Regions from separate parts of the Homo sapiens genome. Here regions 1, 2, 3, 4 and 5 are each linked to region 6. Evidence: promoter capture Hi-C in 16 types of primary human blood cells and fetal thymus (Javierre and others, 2016). All regions are on one chromosome and are shown on one strand. Each heading gives the region's core, a stretch centred on a gene start or on the middle of the fragment in contact. The rest is flanking DNA. Distances are from core to core; before and after follow the strand shown. Region 1 overlaps ARFIP1 (ARF interacting protein 1). Region 2 overlaps TMEM131L (transmembrane 131 like). Region 3 overlaps RNF175 (ring finger protein 175). Region 4 has its middle 9.2 kb from the start of TLR2. Region 5 overlaps TMEM131L (transmembrane 131 like). Region 6 holds the start of MND1 (meiotic nuclear divisions 1).

What was found. The method cuts DNA at HindIII sites, captures the fragments that hold promoters and counts their contacts. A CHiCAGO score of 5 or more calls a contact.
Region 1: a fragment that was not itself captured here is called in contact with the fragment with the promoter of MND1 in region 6 in 4 of 17 cell types (naive B cells, total B cells, naive CD8 T cells and 1 more); the score reaches 9.9 in naive B cells.
Region 2: a contact is called between a fragment that was not itself captured here and the fragment with the promoter of MND1 in region 6, in 10 of 17 cell types (activated CD4 T cells, naive CD4 T cells, non-activated CD4 T cells and 7 more). The highest score is 10.3, in activated CD4 T cells.
Region 3: a contact is called between a fragment that was not itself captured here and the fragment with the promoter of MND1 in region 6, in 1 of 17 cell types (M2 macrophages). The highest score is 7.2, in M2 macrophages.
Region 4: a contact is called between a fragment that was not itself captured here and the fragment with the promoter of MND1 in region 6, in 1 of 17 cell types (endothelial precursors). The highest score is 5.1, in endothelial precursors.
Region 5: a fragment that was not itself captured here is called in contact with the fragment with the promoter of MND1 in region 6 in 10 of 17 cell types (activated CD4 T cells, naive CD4 T cells, non-activated CD4 T cells and 7 more); the score reaches 11.8 in activated CD4 T cells.

What each region holds. Positions count from the first base shown.
Region 1 is chr4:152,850,117-152,853,048 of GRCh38, reverse strand. All of the region lies in intron 2 of ARFIP1 (ARF interacting protein 1), which reads right to left. Among named protein-coding and RNA genes, the nearest start is that of ARFIP1, 72 kb to the right of the region's middle. RefSeq lists enhancers at 1,793-2,451, 2,338-2,632. The HindIII fragment of the contact is 900 bases long and covers 965-1,864 here.
Region 2 is chr4:153,625,341-153,628,513 of GRCh38, reverse strand. It overlaps TMEM131L (transmembrane 131 like), which reads right to left. Exons shown (of 35, transcript NM_001131007.2): 30 at 2,289-2,367; 31 at 827-909. Among named protein-coding and RNA genes, the nearest start is that of TLR2, 57 kb to the left of the region's middle. The HindIII fragment of the contact is 9,544 bases long and covers 1-3,173 here.
Region 3 is chr4:153,735,767-153,738,926 of GRCh38, reverse strand. The region is part of intron 3 of RNF175 (ring finger protein 175); the gene reads left to right. Among named protein-coding and RNA genes, the nearest start is that of RNF175, 23 kb to the left of the region's middle. The HindIII fragment of the contact is 8,364 bases long and covers 1-3,160 here.
Region 4 is chr4:153,673,648-153,676,471 of GRCh38, reverse strand. It overlaps the pseudogene LOC100419170. Among named protein-coding and RNA genes, the nearest start is that of TLR2, 9.2 kb to the left of the region's middle. The HindIII fragment of the contact is 782 bases long and covers 961-1,742 here.
Region 5 is chr4:153,607,293-153,610,097 of GRCh38, reverse strand. The region is part of intron 25 of TMEM131L (transmembrane 131 like); the gene reads right to left. Among named protein-coding and RNA genes, the nearest start is that of TLR2, 76 kb to the left of the region's middle. The HindIII fragment of the contact is 8,401 bases long and covers 1-2,805 here.
Region 6 is chr4:153,343,275-153,346,131 of GRCh38, reverse strand. It overlaps MND1 (meiotic nuclear divisions 1), which reads right to left and starts at 1,444. Exons shown (of 8, transcript NM_032117.4): 1 at 1,392-1,444. The coding sequence starts at 1,394. RefSeq lists enhancers at 336-455, 536-595 and silencers at 1,076-1,235, 1,366-1,675. The HindIII fragment of the contact is 6,712 bases long and covers 118-2,857 here.

The DNA of each region.
Region 1 (2,932 bases), core at 165-2,664, 490 kb after region 6:
TCACTCAAATCCCTCCCTACTGTCTGCTGGGGTTCTTTACTAAACAAACAAAAGTTCTTCCAGAAGAAAACTCTACTGTCCTATAGGTAAAACAGGTGTAAAATCTGAAAATCACTAAGGCCTTCCTATGCCTAAGCTGCTACTAACAGAAGGAGCCTAACCAAAAATGATACAAATAGGTTGAATTCCAATTCTGAAGAGAACTATCATTCTGATGTGGTTTGGCAGCTAAATGAAACACAAAATAATAGGGGCTATGTGAGACGAATTTATGACTTGTGAGATAATACTAGGGATTTTATGAGTTTGTTGTTTTCAATAAAATACTCATTCTCTAAGTAATATTATATAGCCTCACAGTTCACCAAAATTTTAAATGTGCTTTCTTTACATAACCCGAAATTTTTTTTTTTTTTTGAGACGGAGTCTCGCTCTGTCACCTGGCTGTAGTGCAATGGCGTGATCTTGGCTCACTGCAACCTCCGCCTCCCAGGTTCAAGCAATTCTCCTGCCTCAGCCTCCTGAGTAGCTGGGAATATAGGCACACGCTGCCACACCTGGCTAATTTCTTTTGTATTTTAGTAGAGACAGGGTTTCACCGTGTTGCCCAGGCTGGTCTCGAACTCCTGAGCTCTGACAATCCGCCCGCCTCAGCCTCCCAAAGTGCTAGGATTACGGGCATGAGCCACCGCGCCTGGCCAACCCTTAAATTTTTTAAGTGTATCAGTTATATAAGTCTGTGCCTAGCTTAGCAACTTATAAAGTATCTGCTACTGAATTTACTCCTATATTTTCCAGACTATATTTCAGAGACAATGGACCCATTTATAATTAACAACATAAAATTCCTAATTTGCATTTTTATGTTGCTGACATTCAATTCAAAGTTTAACACTTTGCAAGGCCAAGCTTAACAAGTGTATAATAAAATGGGATAAACCTGAGTTAACCTTTTATTCAAGCTTTTAGCATAATGCTTGAGTATTTAATAGTTTTTAAAAATATTTTTCAAACAATTAAGCTAAAACAAAATATGCTTTTGGCAAAAGCTCCAAATACATTTTTGTACATTTTAGGTACTTTTAAAAGAATACAAAGTAATATTTGTAGTAATAGCTTTCATAAAGCTGTGAAAAATAACGTCTCCATTTTGCATATTTTAATAGAGGTTACTATAATTATGACATTAAAAACATAAGTTTAGAACTTAAAATTTAGCATGGTAATACTTTTGAACTGTAGTGTAAAACCAACACATGAAGAACACAAAATGTTCAGTAAATTTGTTTTAAAATATATATCCTTGAGAATGTCCTAAGTCTCACTCCTCTTTTGCCCTTGATGACTGAACTTGTTTCCCATGTCTCTAGTACTGTCAGTCCCGCAATCAATTCTTCAAACTAGACAGAGACAGTTTTCTAAAATGTGAACCCAACTGAGACACTCCCATTTTTATAGCATTTAGTGGCTCTCCATTGCCTTTTAGGTAAAGACTAAACTCTTCAATATGGTTTTCAAGGTTTTGCAGGATCTACTATCTACTTATCTCTCTAGCCTCATTTCTCACACACCTGCCCTCACATTCTCCATTCCAACAACATGAATTTCCAGTTCTATGGTCTCACACTTCCTTCGGGTTGTTACAGTTGCTTCTGATGAGAATATTTTTCACCCTTTATCTGGCTAGGTCATCCTTCAGACCTCAGCTTATATAGTAATCACTCAGGTAATCTTTCCATGCTCCCACCAGTACTCAGACCATGCTATACTTGGCCTAGCACAACATTTTTCACATGGTATTAAAATTAATTTGTCTATATCCTCTCTTCCCATTCCGAAGACCATATGCTAAGATCAGGAAGCTTATCTATCTTGTTCACCACTTGTATTCTTGACATCTAGCAGAGTGTCTATTACTTCATTTGGCAAGAAATTTTCTCAGTAACATCTCATGCTTCAAAAGGGACAAAACCTTCCAAAGCATCTACATAATAAATTTTTTAAAGAAACAAACTAAAACACTTATGTTAAATGTTTGATGAATTCTGTTAATTTAAAATCTCCTTTGTTAGTTTAACAGTTAGCTGTCTATAAAAAGTATCTGCCAGAAGCAAAGCTATTATTACAACAGCCTCCACATCCCCAGTTCTGTAACACTATTAACCCCCCTTAAGTGGCCTCTCTGCTTCTCCACAATTATCTTGAGTTTTATAAAACTGATTATCTTCCAACATTCTACTTATCAATATTCTATTGTTAGAAGGCAGGGTCAGCATTTTCTAAACTCTCTATTGGTACTTCTAAACAACCAGTTCTCAAACCTTAATTTCAGTAGGAATCACCTGAGGATCCTGTTAAAAATGCAGATTGCTCTTAGCTGTGTGGTGATTCTCACTGAGTTGGAATGTGAAGCCCAGAAATCCGAATTTCAAAACAAGGAAATCAGGTGATTCTGATGCAGGCGATCCTTAGTCTATTTTGAGGAACTGTTGTAGAGAACTGCTTTCCATTCTTGTGCAACTCTGCCCCTACCCAACCCCCCCGTTTCCTGTGTGTCACCTTCCTCACTGCCCTCGTCCCCACCTCAACATTGTCATCTACCTTCTTTCCAGTCAATTTCAAATATTTATTGAAGACTTTGGCACATCTAGGGCTTCTGCTTTATCCCTAACTCTCACCATTAAACTGGGTGTTTCTAACCTTTTGCATGTTGGTGGGCACATTTTCAGGAAATGATTATAGATGTTCAGTTAGCAATTCCTTCCAAGCTGATATATTCGCTGTCTAGGCTGAAAGTTTTCACCGATCATTAAAAATACAGTCCACTAATGTTATGGTAGGTAGTAAGTTGCTATATTTTAAAATATAAATTGTAAAACACTTAAAATCTGTTCCATGAGCCTGCCTACCTATGCTGATGCAGAATGACAGG
Region 2 (3,173 bases), core at 504-3,003, 280 kb before region 6:
GCAGCTTTTAAATCCAGTGTTAAATTCTATGACCAAAAGCAAGTATGTGTATTAAAGACACAGAGAATAAAAATCAGGTTTATCCTGCCACAATTCCTGACCCACGTTAGGCAAGAAAGAAGCCCTAGAATCAAACAGAAAACAAAAGACAAAGAGAGGCAGAAGAGGAGGAAAAGAGAAGAAAAATGAGGGAGGACTGGAATTCACCTCCCATCAGAGCCCCCAGGCAGGAGAGGTTTCCTTCCCACCCATTCCTACTTCCATGCACCTAGGCAACTGCCTTCCCCGCAGGCAGAAGGTCTCAGCACTGATGCCTGAGCAAGGCGGGTCCCCAAGGCTGCTGAGGCTGAATTAGTAGGCTTCTAACACAAAGTGAGTTGGGGAGGAAGGGAAGCAGGCCAGGGAAAGTGGTAAGCAGGTGAGGTGCTGCACCCTCAGCCTAGGCACACTCCCCAATCAGCCTCCTTCCCTTGGGCCACGCATCTACCTTCTGTACTTTTCTGTCATCTCTGACTAGGGAAGGTGAACTAAATGAATCAGGAGTCTGCTGTGAGGGGCCTGGGATTATTCCAGGACATAGGGCATCTGTGCCTCAGCTGTAGGGAGGGGGCTCACTATTGATGCACAAGGTCAGCTGGGGCCCCAATGATGCCCGTCCACAGAGTAGGTGCCTTCCTGATGTATGAACGTGTGGCTTGCAGAAGGGGCTGGTGGGGAAATGGCCCTGTCCCACCCCGCCTGCTCTGTCTTCTCAAACTCATCAGCCAGGAATACAGACAGCACAGAACCCTTGGCTGATGTCTGCAGCAAGACGAATGCATCTCACCTTTATCTTCTTCAACACCTGTGGGCCCGGCAGGAAGGCTGGGACAGGAAGGCTCTGCGTATTGTGGGAGACTATTCACGGTCCTGTGGGGAAGAGGGCAAAGGAGGAACGACTCATTTTTTCTGCACGAGGAAATACTGATATTGTATAACCACGTCTGATTGAGTTTTCACTCAATTGAAGTCTTGGGGAAGAGTTTCTTGGGGAAGAAACATACAGATATAAAGGATGTAAAGTTACACAGCCAGAAAAGAATTGAGGAATATTAAATTCCCAAATCTAGCAAAGTCTTGTCATAACCAACAACAAAAAAAATTAACTAACATAACTATGAGGTAACCTGTGGTTTTAAATCTACCCGTCAGGTAGATTTTCAGACAGGTAGCCACCTGTCTGTATTTCCAGGTAGTTCACCTTCCCTAGTCAGAGATGACAGAAAAGTACAGAAGGGAGATGCGTGGCCCAAGGGAAGGAGGCTGACTGGGGAGTGTGCCTAGGCTAGCAGTTAGCAGCAACTCTTACTCCTTTGCTGACAACCTACCCCCAATAAACCCATGAAGAGCTTTCCTGTGCACTAGTCAAGTTTCCTTCCTCACAAACTCACCCTCTTAACTGCATCCTTTGTCCTCTTACCAAGAGGGAGGTACCTAAGAAACCAAGTTCATTTCTCACACTGAACTCTCCTCCTTCTTACCCACGCTCCTCGTCTCTCACTCAATAAATTGTACTTGTTTATTTTGTCCAGTGCTGCAGAAATCATCATAGGGCAGAACTGGAAACATGTATCTACTAGGTTCTTGCAAAATTTCCTCAATTATCAATGCTCAGTTTTATTTCAAGGCCTAGCAAAGGGTAAATGATTCCCATCTTTATAATAACTACTGCTTCCTCCTTCTATATTCAGAAATAAGGTGTTCTTTTCTGAGACAGGATCTCGCTCTGTTACCCAGGCTAGAGTGTAGTGGTGTGATCATAGCTCATTGCAGCCTCGATCTCCTGGGATCAAGGGATCCTCCCACCTTAGCCTCAGCGAGTAGCTGGAAATACAGGCATGCGCCGCTACGCCTAATTTAAAAAGAAAAAACGAAATTCTTTTTAGAGATGGAGTTTCATTATGTTACCCAGACTGGTCCTGAACTCCTGGACTCAAGAGATCCTCCCACCCTGGCCTCCCAAAGTGCTAGGATTACAAGTGTGAACCACCACGGCTGGCCTCAAAACTTAGGTATTTTCCAACGTGGCTACCTGTCTGAAAAAAAATAGCGATACCTGAGCCTCTCCCACATGAACCATGTTTACTTGCGCCACTCCTGAATTAATAAAATCAGATTTTACTTTCCTGCATCTTTAAAAAGTTTTCATATTTTAACCTGCAGAACCAAGTACAAAGAAGAAACACAATAATTGGTAGAAAAAGCAGTACACAAAACATACTGTAAAAGCTGGAAAATAAAAAACTTACATGGGATTGCAGATGTTATGAGAAAGATTCAAGGAGATGGGAGCTTCAGAAGGAAAATCATTTTGTGAAACACTGTCTCCTGCATTAAAAGAAACACATTATCACAAGTTTCAAAAAGTACACTTCAACTGTATATTCGGTATTAAAATGCATAGGTTATTAATATCATTAATGCATGACTGATTTTTCACTTTAAACTGATATTCTCACATTTTTTAATTAAACATTAAACATGAATCGTGCAATTATACTACAATTATGAACATTTAGGTATATTTCTTTACAATCTCTTTTTGTTGTTGTTGTTTTGTTTTTTTTGAGACAGAGTCTCACTCTGTTGCCCAGGATGGAGTGCAATGGTGTGATCTCGGCACACTGCAACTTCCACCTCCCGGGTTCAACCAATTCTCCTGCCTCAGCCTCCCAAGTAGGTGGGATTACAGGTGTGCACCACCATGCCCAGCTAATTTTTGTATTTTTAGTAGAGATGGGGTTTTGCCATGTTGGCCAGGGTGATCTTGAACTCCTGACCTCAGGTGATCCACCTGCCTCGGCCTCCCAAAGTTCTTTACAGTCTCCTTTATGTGTGTGTATATGTATAAAATTGGAATCATATTTCACATATACATTGTCTTTTGTTTTTTTACACCATTTATTACACTGGGGACATTTCCCTACTATTATATAACCTTCAAATGCAACTTGAAGACTGCATACTATGCTACTGTACAGCAACACCATTAATAATTTTCATCATTCTACTAATGTTAGCCTTTCCCTCAAGCAAAAGACACACTTGTAGTTTTTCTTAACTAATGTACCCCCTTTTTTTTTGTCGAGACAGAGTCTCGCTTTGTCACCCAGGCTGGAGTGCAGTGGCGATCT
Region 3 (3,160 bases), core at 165-2,664, 390 kb before region 6:
GTATTTTGCAACTCTGGAGAAACCACTAGAAATAATTGTAAAGGAGTATAATTGATATACTAATAGAGGAGAGAAAATGGAATCTCATAAAATACCCAGTTAAAACCAGAGAAGGCAGAGAGAGAGGGAGAAAGATGCAAGGAACAAGTGCAACAAATAGAAAATAGTTACATACATGGTAGATATTAATCCAACTATATCAATAATCACTTCAAATGTGAATGGTCTAAATATAAAAATTAAAATACAAAGATTTTCAGAGTGGATTAATTTACAAAAACAAGATGCAATTATATGTTGTTACAGATATATCAACAGTAAAGATTTGGAAAAAGATATTCCATACTAACACTAATCAAAAGAAAGCTGGACCAGCTATATTAATTTCAGACAAAGTGGACTTCAGAACAAGGAAAATTATCAGGGATAAGAAAGGGCATTTGGCTTGGCACAGTGGCTCATGCCTGTAATTCCAGCACTTTGAGAGCCCAAGGTAGGAGGACTGCTTGAGCCAAGAGCTCGAGACCAGCTTGGGCAACAAAGTGACACCTTATCTCTACCAAAAAAAAAAAAAAATTAGCCAGATGTAGCGGCAGGCACCTGTAGTTCCAGCTACTTGGAGGCTGAGGAGGGAGGATCGCTTGAGCCTAGGAGTTCAAAACCAGCTTGGGTAACATGATGAAACCCCATCTCTATAAATAATTTAAAAATTAGCCAGGCATAGTGGCATGCTCCTGTAGTCCCAGCTACTCCAGAGGCTGAGATGGGAAAATGGCTTGAGCCCAGGAGGTCAATGCTGCAATGAGCCATGATCTCTCCACTGCACTCCAGCCTGGGCAGCGGAGTGAGACTCTGCCTCAAAAAAAGAAAGAAAGAAAGGGCATTACATAATGATAAAGGGGTCAGTTATTCAAGAAGAAATTCTTAATATGTATGCATCTAACAAAAGAGCATCAAAATATGTGAGACAAAAACTGATAGAACTGCAAAGAGAAATCAACAAATTGACCATTATAGTTAAAGATTTTAATACATCTTTTAGTAGTTGATGGATCAAGCAGGCATAAAATTAGTAAGGACATAATTGACTGAACAGTTCCATTCATCAGCTTGCTCTAAATGATATTTATAGAATACTTCATCCAACAACAACAGAGTATATATTCTTCTTGACATCACATGGAACATTCACCAAAATACACCACATTCTGAGCCATAAAACACTCCAAAATAAATTTAAAAGAATAGAAATTATACAATCTATGCTCTCAAACCACAATGAATTAAACTAGAAATTAATAACAGAAAGCATGGAAAATTCCAAAATATTTTCAGATTAAATAACATAATACTAAATAACACATGGGTCAAAGAAGAAACTCCAGAGAAATTTTAAAATAATTTAAATGAAAATGAAAATGCAACTTATCAAAATTTCTGGGATGCAGCAAAAGCAGTGCTTAGAGGAAAATTTATACCATTGAATGCATATATTAGAAAAGAAGAAAAGTCTAAAATCAATAATCTAAAAATCCACCTGAGGAAACTAGAAAAGGAAGAGTAATTTATGCCTACAACAAACAGAAAATAAATAATATAAATTTTGGCAAAAATTGATGAAATTAAAAATAGGAAATCAGTAGAGGAAACACAATGAAACCAAAAGCTGGTTCTTTGAAAAGATCAATAAATCTGATAAACCTCTAGCCAGACTAACCAAGAAAAAAAAAAGAGAAAACACAAATTACTAATATTATAAAAGAAAATTGGGCTAGGCTTAGTGACTCACACCTGTCATCCCAGCACTTGGGAGGCTGAGGTGGGAGGATCACTTGAGGCCAAGTGTTCAAGACCAGCCTGGGCAACATAATGAGACCCCATCTCTACAAAAAATTTGAAAATTAGCCAGGCATCATGGCACGTGCCTGTAGTCCTAGCTACTCAGGAGGCTGAGGCAGGAGGATTGCTTAAGCCCAGGAGTTGGAGGTACAGTGAGCTATGGTTGTGCCACTGCATTCCAGCCTGGGTCACAGAGAGAGGCCCTGTCTCCCTGAAAAAAGAGAAAAGAAAATGAGATCATCATTACTAATCCCATGGACATAAAAAGAAAAGGCTACAAACAATTCTGTGCACACAAATTTGGATAAATTAGATGAGGTGGGCTAATTCTTTGAAAGACACAAACTATACCAAAACTCGCACAAGGAGAAATAGATGAACTGAATAGGCCTATATCAATTTAAAATTTCAATCAATAATTAATAACCTTCCAAAAAAGAAAGCACCAAGCCCAGGTTGTTTCACTGGTAAATTCTACCAAACATTTAAAGAAGAAATGATACCAGTTCTCTACAATCTCTCCCAGAAAATAGAAACAGAGGGAGTACTTGCAAATTCATTCATTGAGGCCAGCATTACCCTCATAAAAAAACCAGAAAGACAAAGTTGGAGGACTGACACTGCCCAATTTCAAGACTTACCATATGAAGACATTACAAGGAAAGGAAACTGTAGACCAAAATCTCTCAAAAACATAAATCCAAAAATCTTCATCAAAATATTAGCAGAGCAAATCCAACAATGTATAAAATGAATTATACACCACAATCAAGTGAGATTTATTCCAGATATGAAAGGCTGACTCAACAATTAAAAATCAATTTATGTAAATAATCACATCAAGAGGCTAAAGAAGAAAGTCCTGTGATCATATCAATAGATGTAGCAGAAGCATTTGGCAAGGTCTAGCATGCATTCATGTAAAACTCTCAGCAAACTAGGAATAAAAGGGAATTTCCCAACTTGATAAAGAGTGCCTACAGAAAGCCTACAACTGACATACTTAATGGTGAGAAACTGGATGATTTCCCTCTAAGATAAGGAAGAAGGAAAGAATGTCCTGTCTCACCACTCCTATTCAACATTGTGCAGGAAGTCCTTGCTAGTGCAGCAAGATAGGAAATAAAAGGTATGCAGATTAGAAAGAAAAATTAAAACCATCTTACATGATTGTCTATATGGAAAATCTCAAAGAATCAACATAAACTCATGGAAATAATAAGTGATTATAGCAAGGTTGGAAGATACAAAGTAAATATACAAAAGTCAATTGTTACCAGTAATGAACCATTAGAATTTGAAATTAAAACACAATACCATT
Region 4 (2,824 bases), core at 102-2,601, 330 kb before region 6:
TCACAAGTGCCTGAAGAAAGAAATATCCCTGCAAACAGCAAAAGTCAAGGTGAGAGGTGGGACTACCTTGCCCAGCCCTGGAAACTCTGCTCTGTAATTAAGCCAAAGGAGATGCCAAATCAGAGTGACTGTTTAGCAGCACTAGCTTTAGGAATTACCTTCCACAGGTCCCTTGGGCATGAACCTCTAGCCAGCCTTCCCAAATTGGCAAGATATCCCCACTGGGACTTCTTCCATTTGGGACTTGCAGCACTCTGATTCTTTGCTAGAGCTGAGGCAAACCTGTGCTTAAGGCATCATCTAGCACCAAAAAGGAGGTGGCAACTTAGTGGTGGGGGAAATAAGAAATTAACAAGTAAATTACAAAGAATCTCTAGGCAAATATACCAAATAAAAACCAAAACAAGCCAGAAAAGACTGGAATAAATAACAAATCCTTCAATGCAAAGACATAGAGGTATATCCACAAGAAACAACAGCAAATAGGGAACCAAAACCTCCCTAACTGGACAAAGCAAGATACCCATGACAGGCCCTAAGAAGATGGCGATACATGAGCTCTCTGACAAATAATTCAAAATAGCAATTTTAAGGAAACTCAGTGGCCTTCAGGATAACACAGAAAAGCAATTCAGAAATTTATCAGAGAAATTTAACAAAGAGATTGAAATAATAATTTTAAAAATCAAACAAATCTTGGAACTGAAAAAACATTTGCTGAAATGAAAAATTTATTAGAGGGTCTCAACAGCAGAATAGATCAAGCAAAGGAAGGAATCAGTTGGCTTGAAGATAGCCTATTCAATATCACACAGTCAAAAGAGAAAAAAGATTGAACAGGAAGAAAGTTTACCTAAAATACATGGAAATGACCAAGTCTAAAATTTATTGTTGTTCAAGAGGTAGTTGAGCAAGAGCAAGGGATGGAAAGCTTATTCAAATAAATAGTAACAGAAAGCTTTCCAAAAATTGAAAAAGATATAAATGTCCATGTAGAGGAAGGTCAGAGAATACCAAACAGATTCATCCCAAATAAGACTACATCAAGGCATAAAATAATCAAACTCCCAAATGTCAAGGATAAAGAGAGGATCCTAAAAGCAGCAAGAGAAAAGAAGCAAGTAACATACAAAGAAACTCCAATTCATCTGGCAACAGACTTATCAACGAAAACCATACAGGCCAGGAGGGTACGCAACAACATTTTCAATGTTCTGAAAAAACCCTGCCACCCAAGAATACTATATTTGGAAAGGCTATTCTTCATATATGAAAGAGAAATTAACTCTTCCCAGACAAACAAAAGCTAAGAGAAGTCACAACCACCAGACCTGTCTTACAAGAAATGCTAAAGGGAGTTCTTCAATTTGAAAGAAAAAAAAAACACTAACATGCAAAAAGAAAACATTTGAAGGTATAAAACCCACTAGTATGAAGACAACCCAAGAATACTCCAGTGCTGTAATTATGGTATGCAATCCACTCAAAACTCTAGTAGGAAACCTATAAGGCAAGTATATGCAAAACAATAATAGCTATAGCAACTTATTAACAGACAGACAATATAAAAGTATGTAAACTGAGAAAAGAAAAGTCAAAATGTGGGGGGTATTGGAGTCAATGTATAGAGGGTTTTTTGTTTTTTAAGTTTGTTCTTTGTTTCTATTCTTTTTTCTGATCTAAGATAAATTATCATCTCTTTAAAACAACTTGTTATATCTATAAGACATTTTTTGTAAGCTTCATGGTGACCACAATGCAAAAACCTATAATAGATACACTAAAAATAAAAAGCAATAAATTAAAACATACTACCAAAACAATCACTTAACCACAAAGGAAGACAGTAAGAAAGGAGTTTAAAAAGGAGAACACAAGCAACAAAATAGCAGTAGTAAGCCCTTATCAATAATAACACTAAATGTAAATGGATTTAATTCTTCAATTAAAAGACATAAAATGGCTGAATGGATAATGAAACAAGATCCAGCTATAAGAAACCCACCTCATCTATAAAAACCCACATAAATTGAAAGTGAAGTGATGAAAAATGATATTCCATGCAAGTAAAAACAAACAAAAAAACAGGAGTAGCTATACTTATGTCAGATAAAATAAAGTAAAAAACTATAAAAAGAGCCAAAGAAGGTCACTATATGAGAATAAAGGGGTCGATTTGCAAGAGGCTATAACAATTATAAATATCTATGCACCCAACAGCAGAGCACCGAAGTATATAAGGCAAACATAATGGAGCTCAAGGGAGACGTAGACTGCAGTACAGTAATAGTAAGGGACTTCAATGGACAAGTCATGCAGACAGCAAATCAACAAGGAAACATCAGAATTAAACTACACACTAGACCAAATAGACCTAACTGACATTTGCAGAGCATTTCACCCAACTGCTGCAGAATACACATTCTTTTGAATCAGCACATGGAACATTCTCCAGAGTCTGCCATATTTTAGCCCACAAAACAAGTCTCAACAAACTCAAAAAGGAGAAATCATATCAAATATTGTTTTTGACCACAATGGAATAAAGCTAGAAGTCAATAACAAGAGGAATCTTGGAAACTACACATACACATAAAAATGAAACAACATGCTCCTGAATGACCAATGGGTCAATGAAGAAATTAAGAAGAAAAAATTAAAATTTCTTGAAACAAATAGAAATGGAAATATAACATACCCAAATCTATAAGATACAGCAAAAGCAATACTAAGAAGGAGGTTTATAGCAATAAATGTCTACATCAAGAAAGTAAAAATACATCAAATAAACTTACCTAATGATACACTTCAAGGAACTAGAAAA
Region 5 (2,805 bases), core at 53-2,552, 260 kb before region 6:
CAGCAGCCCTGTGGAATCATCATTACCCTCCATTTCCTACCTTGTCAAAATTAAAAGTCATTCTTTAGGACAGATCACCTTTGAAATTTAATTCCTTCTAAAACACAAACTGGCGGTTAGATATCCACAAAGGAAAACATCAAGCACTATGAAACAGTAAAGCAGACAGCCAAAAGCAAGGCAGACAGGGTCCGTACCAGAAAAAGAAAGCATAAGAAGAATATCCCTTTGGATTCTGGAAGCCATAAGTATGAAATACAATACAGATATTTGCCTCAAAAAAATAGGTGCCATTACTCTCCTGGTGTCCTAATTTGTGAGAAAATGGATTTCCTTAAGTTTTCTTCAGGCCAAGAATATAGTACTAAAAGTATTAGTCATCAAAGTTTCTTAGGAAGGATCCAAATTTAATAGCCAGTACAAAACCATCCCCAAAAAGTAATAATGTGCAGACTTTTAGAAAATCAGTAATGCCTTCTATGGGGCCAAGAATCAGGACAAACAATAAAATGAATGTTAACAACAAGTTCTGCAGTGACTCTGAGAAATTCTAACATGAAAGCATTCAAGAATATGGGATACCAAACACATACGTCATTTACAAATGGGGTCAATCCATGCAATATGGTTTGGTTCTGTGTCCCCACCCAAATCTCATGTCAAATTGTAATCCTCAATGTTGGAGGAGGGGCCTGGTGGGAGGTGACTGGATCATGGGGGCTGACTTCTCCCTGGCTGTTCTCATGATAGTGAGAGAGTTCTCACGAGATTTAGTTGTTTAAAAGTGTGTAGCACTTCCCCCTTCACTCTCTCTTCCTCCTGCTCCCACCATGCAAGACGTGCTTGCTTCCCCTTTACCCCTCCACCATAACTGTGTTTCCTAAGGTCTCCCCAGAAGCAGAAGCCTGTACAGCCCACAGAACTGTGAGCCAATTAAACCTCTTTATAAATTATCCAGTCTCTGGTATTTCTTTATGGCAGTGAAAAACAGCCTAATACACCAAGTCATCCTATTAAGTGTGCAACTTCCCCATGACCTCACTGAGTAAGAGTGTACCACAGTTAAAAATCAAAAACAAATGGAAAGAACACTAATAATAATAAAGGGGGCAGGAGAAGACGTTGGGAGGTGCACATGTTAATGCCCTTCACGGTGGTAATGGTTTCACGATGTACACTTATTCCCAAACTCATCAAGATGCATACATTAAGTATGTACAGCTTTATAGGTCAGTAATTCCTTTTAAAAGTGGTTAAAAAACAGAAACAAATGGAAGAACAAGACACAAGTGATCTCCTCAGTAACCTGCTTAAAGTTGTACTGTCTCAAATCTAATCACAATCACGTGGTCTGTTTTGAATAAACCATTAAATCTTCATTTCAAGTTAATAGTATCTGTAAGTAAATAGGAACATTTTTGGAATTTCTGCAAATACCAATAATTTCAGAAAGGTGAGGAATGTAATTCAGTGAAAACTTTCAGGTACTGTTAAGCTCAAGGCTTGAGCTATTATCAAATTTAATTATACCTTTACATTATTACAGGTAGAAACCCGTGAAATAATTTGCTCACTATTTCTCCTTGGTAGTGCTGCGGCCAACCATAGCTTGTCTTTAGCCATAACTCTAATCTACATTATTTTGATCAGACAGTGAAAATGGTTACAAACATTTAAAAAGAGCTATATTCACAAGATCATTTACATTACACATAAAGCCCCACTCTTGTCAGATGACCAAGAGGTTCTGGAACGTATAACGAATGTTTGACAAGTTTAACTGTTTGATAGTTGTTTGACAAGTTGATGCCAAAAAACAAGTGTAGAAAAACAGAGCCCTAAAGAATGTCAGCAGACTTTATTTCTATTGAGAATTTTAATTAATTATTTACTACAGGCCTCTCCGAAGCAGGCAGGGGAAATGGAGTAGAAAAGGGACACATTTTTTTTTTCATTTTTTGTTTTTGCTTTTATTTTTGAGACAGGGTCTCACTCATTGCCCAGGCTGGAGTGCGGTGGCACAATCACAGCTCACTGCAGCCTTGACCTCCTGGGTTCAAGTGATTCTCCCACCTCAGCCTCCCAAGTAGCTGGGACCACAGGCCCATGCTCATGTACCACCATGCCTGGCTACATTTGGCTACTATACATATACATATACTTCTTTGGGTAGAGATGGAGTTTCACCAGGTTGCCCAGGCTGGCCTGGAACTCCTGGGCTCAAGTGATCTGCCCATCACGGCCTCCCAAATATGACACATTTTCTATTACTTACAAAATATTATGTTTCTTGATGGCAAGTATGTAGTCAAAGCCATTCATACATACCCTAGAACATTTTCTTCTCACACAATAAGCTACACCCGGGGGTGGGGGGAAGCCTCAGAATAGGAGAAGGCAGATTATTCAGGTGCCTCCAGGAGTTCTGATAGTTAGGAAAATCACTTAAGGTATTCTTAAGAGGCGGGACTGTCCCCACCTTTCCCTTTTTCCCTTTAAAGGCAATCTTATGACTAGAATGGTTTCTACAGACCATTTGTATACTTTGGGAGAAATGGCTAAAATGTGGCAAACACACTGAGTGAGTTCCCATTCTGCTGGAATCCTAACTGCCAGTCACACAGGAGACAACGTGACTGGCACTTAGGATTCTCAGCTATCAGGCAGGTTGAGTCCAGCTCAAAGACCAAGCTGTTTTCTTCAGATTCTAGAAAAGATCTTACAATGGAAACAGCACACATTTCACAAAGTAAAATACTTTTCAAAGCTAGCAAAGAACTAATGCTCAAAGCTGGAAGTAAAAAC
Region 6 (2,857 bases), core at 195-2,694:
GTTTACCTTTGACCAACACTAAATTTATTTCTCGATCACATATTAAAAAATAGGAAGTCCACATCTTATCAAAAGCTTTAATTTTTTAAAAGGATTCTCTATTATCGGAGGTAAGCTTCTAAAGAGTTAACACATTTAGTATTAGCAGGTGATTCATGTGTAGAGAGATAGATTAGGTAAAAGGACAACGCGCGTTTGAGCTGCACAGTTCTCCAAGTCAGTTATACGAGGCCAGCAACTCTGCAGAGAAAAATTGTAACACAGAAGGGCACTGCTAACAGATTTGTTTTAACTGTAGTCCTGTTTGGCTCCTTAGAGCACTTCACGCCCAGGTGGCTGGGTTGTTAGTTTAACCACAAAGAAGCCGTTATCATTTATAACTACATCTGGACAAATATCTTCAAATAAATACCATACAACTGGATCCTGGTGTCCCACCCTGCCCCCCTTAGCTCGGCAACATTTAACGGCCACGTAAGTAAATGAAGATATTAAAATCTTAGATCCATTTAACCAGATGTTGATTCTTCGCCAACTGAAGCAGAAAAAACGGCATGAAACTTTGAAGGTTTATGAAAATGATTTGATGAGCAGAAAGACGTTAAGCTCACAAAGCCGATCTTACCAGGACTTAACTGATCATGACCCACGAGGAAGCCTAATTCAGTGCAGAGCGTCCTTAAAAAAGCAACAGCGCCCTACACAACCAGCAGCACCCGGCACAAGAGCAGCGACTCCTGCCCTTTGGCAGAAACCGGGGCGTTTTCACAGAAATCGACTAATTGGCACACAGTGAAGATCCATTAGGTAACTCGAAACTGAGCAGTTCTGGAATGTGCTCTACATATTACAATACAGAAAACCACTCAATGGTGACAAACCAGGAGTGCGCTTTGGGATCAAGACGTTCGCTCCCCGCAGTCCCTCCCGCCCACTTGCGCTTTCTCTCCCCGTTCTTAATGGGGGGGGCTACACCACGCGGGGCCGAAGCTGGAGGCGTAGGGAGCCCAGGTTCTCAAGGGCCCCGTGGTCTTTTAGATAAATCCAGGTTGGTGAAGTTCTCGGGTCACGTTCGCGAACGCTTCCCGCGTTCTAACCTAACCCGCCCGAACGGGCCCTGGGGACAGACGCGGGGTGCAGCCGGCGGGGAGGCCGCGGATGCCCCCGCGCCTCGGGACTCCGGACAGGAGCGGCGGGGAACGCCGCAGAGTGCGGAGTGGCTGCGGCGGGGCCGGGCTGGGCCCCTACACGGTGAGGCCGAGAGCCGGGCGACCGCTCCCGCGGCCCGGAATGGCGGTCAACGCCAGGCCGGGATCCACATGCAGCCGAGGGGCGGCGAAGCCCACACACTAGGGAGGAAGAAGACGCGGGACCGTAGCCTCAGTCCTTACCATGGCGCGGGCGCAGGGGCTTCCGCTGGCCGGGCCCGCGCTTGGGGAGAGGGGCGGGACAGGCCAGGACGCGTTTGATTTTGGCGCCGACTACGCCGCGGGGGCGGAGCAGCGAGACGGTGGAGGTGGGGGAAAGAGGCCGGTCCTCGCCCGCGCGGCGCGCAGCGACCCCTAGCGACCCATCCGAGCCGCCGGCGGGGGAAGGGGCGCGGGCCTGGGGCCGGGGCTGTGGGGAGCGTGTCCGCGTCTCAGTGGACGGGTTGCAGAGCTGCCTCCGTCTCCTCGGTATTCTGTGAATGTGACCTTTTTTTTTTTTAAGGACATCTTGCCTTTGCTTTTACTGCGTTTTCTTGGCGCCGCAGAAATATGGCCTAAGTTTGGATGTAAAAAATAGAGGCGTTTAGGCTGTTGAGGAAGGAAACGCTGCCTCCATCCTTCCGGACTTGTCCTGTCTGGGGCGGACTGGATTCCTTTCTCGTCTTCTAATCTGACCCCTCATCTTCTCCCGAGCCGCTACCCACTGCTTTCCAGCTTTTCAAATCCTGTGTATGTCTGTTTGTTTTTCCCTTAGGTTTTAAAAAAGAAGGAAACAACGGAATGAATTTCAAATCAACATGGTCAAAAATACGCTACTTCATGGCTTGAGAATAGATCCAGATTCATAGCAAAAGCTCAGGCCCCTGAAAGTGCTGAAAAATTTTAACTCAGAATTCAATTATTTTGAAAATTATTCTATGGTGTTTTGAACCATTTTTAGGTGTAAGAAGTACGGTTGGGCGCTGTGGCTCACACCTGTAATCCCAGCAATTTGGGAGGCCGAGGCGGGCAAATCACTTGAGGTAGGGAGTTTGAGACCAGCCTGGCCAACATGGTGAAATCCCATCTCTAATAAAAATACAAAAATTAGCCAGGCGTGGTGGCGGACGCCTGTACAATCCCAGCTACTCGGGAGGCTGAGGCAGGAGAATCGCTTGGACCCAGGAGGCAGAGGTTGCAGTGAGCCAAGACCCCGCCACTGCACTCCAGCCTGGGCGACAGAGTGAGACTCTGTAACACACACACACGCACGCACACACACACACACACACACACACAGTGTAGTAAGTCTTGTAGATGCTATAAGAGTAGCATCTAAAGTTGGAATTTATGTCCCCTGTTGCTTCTGCTGGAGGCAGAGGAAGGGGTACATTGAATTGCAGAGTTCCATTAATTTGGTTTTTCCTGTAAGAGTTATACCATGTAACTGATGGTACATAAGGTAATTTTAAAATGATAAATGAGTACATTAAGTAACTACAGTAGTGGTATATACATTTGTGCTACTTGGGGAAAGCCTTGTCTTAATTGGCTCTCAGGCTTGTTGCAGGTGAGTGGTGACTATCTGAGGCCAGTGGCGCTGTGGCAGAAAAATTTACCAAGGCAGTTGTAAGTAAAGAAAGGCAGAATCATTAGAGAAAGCATGAAAA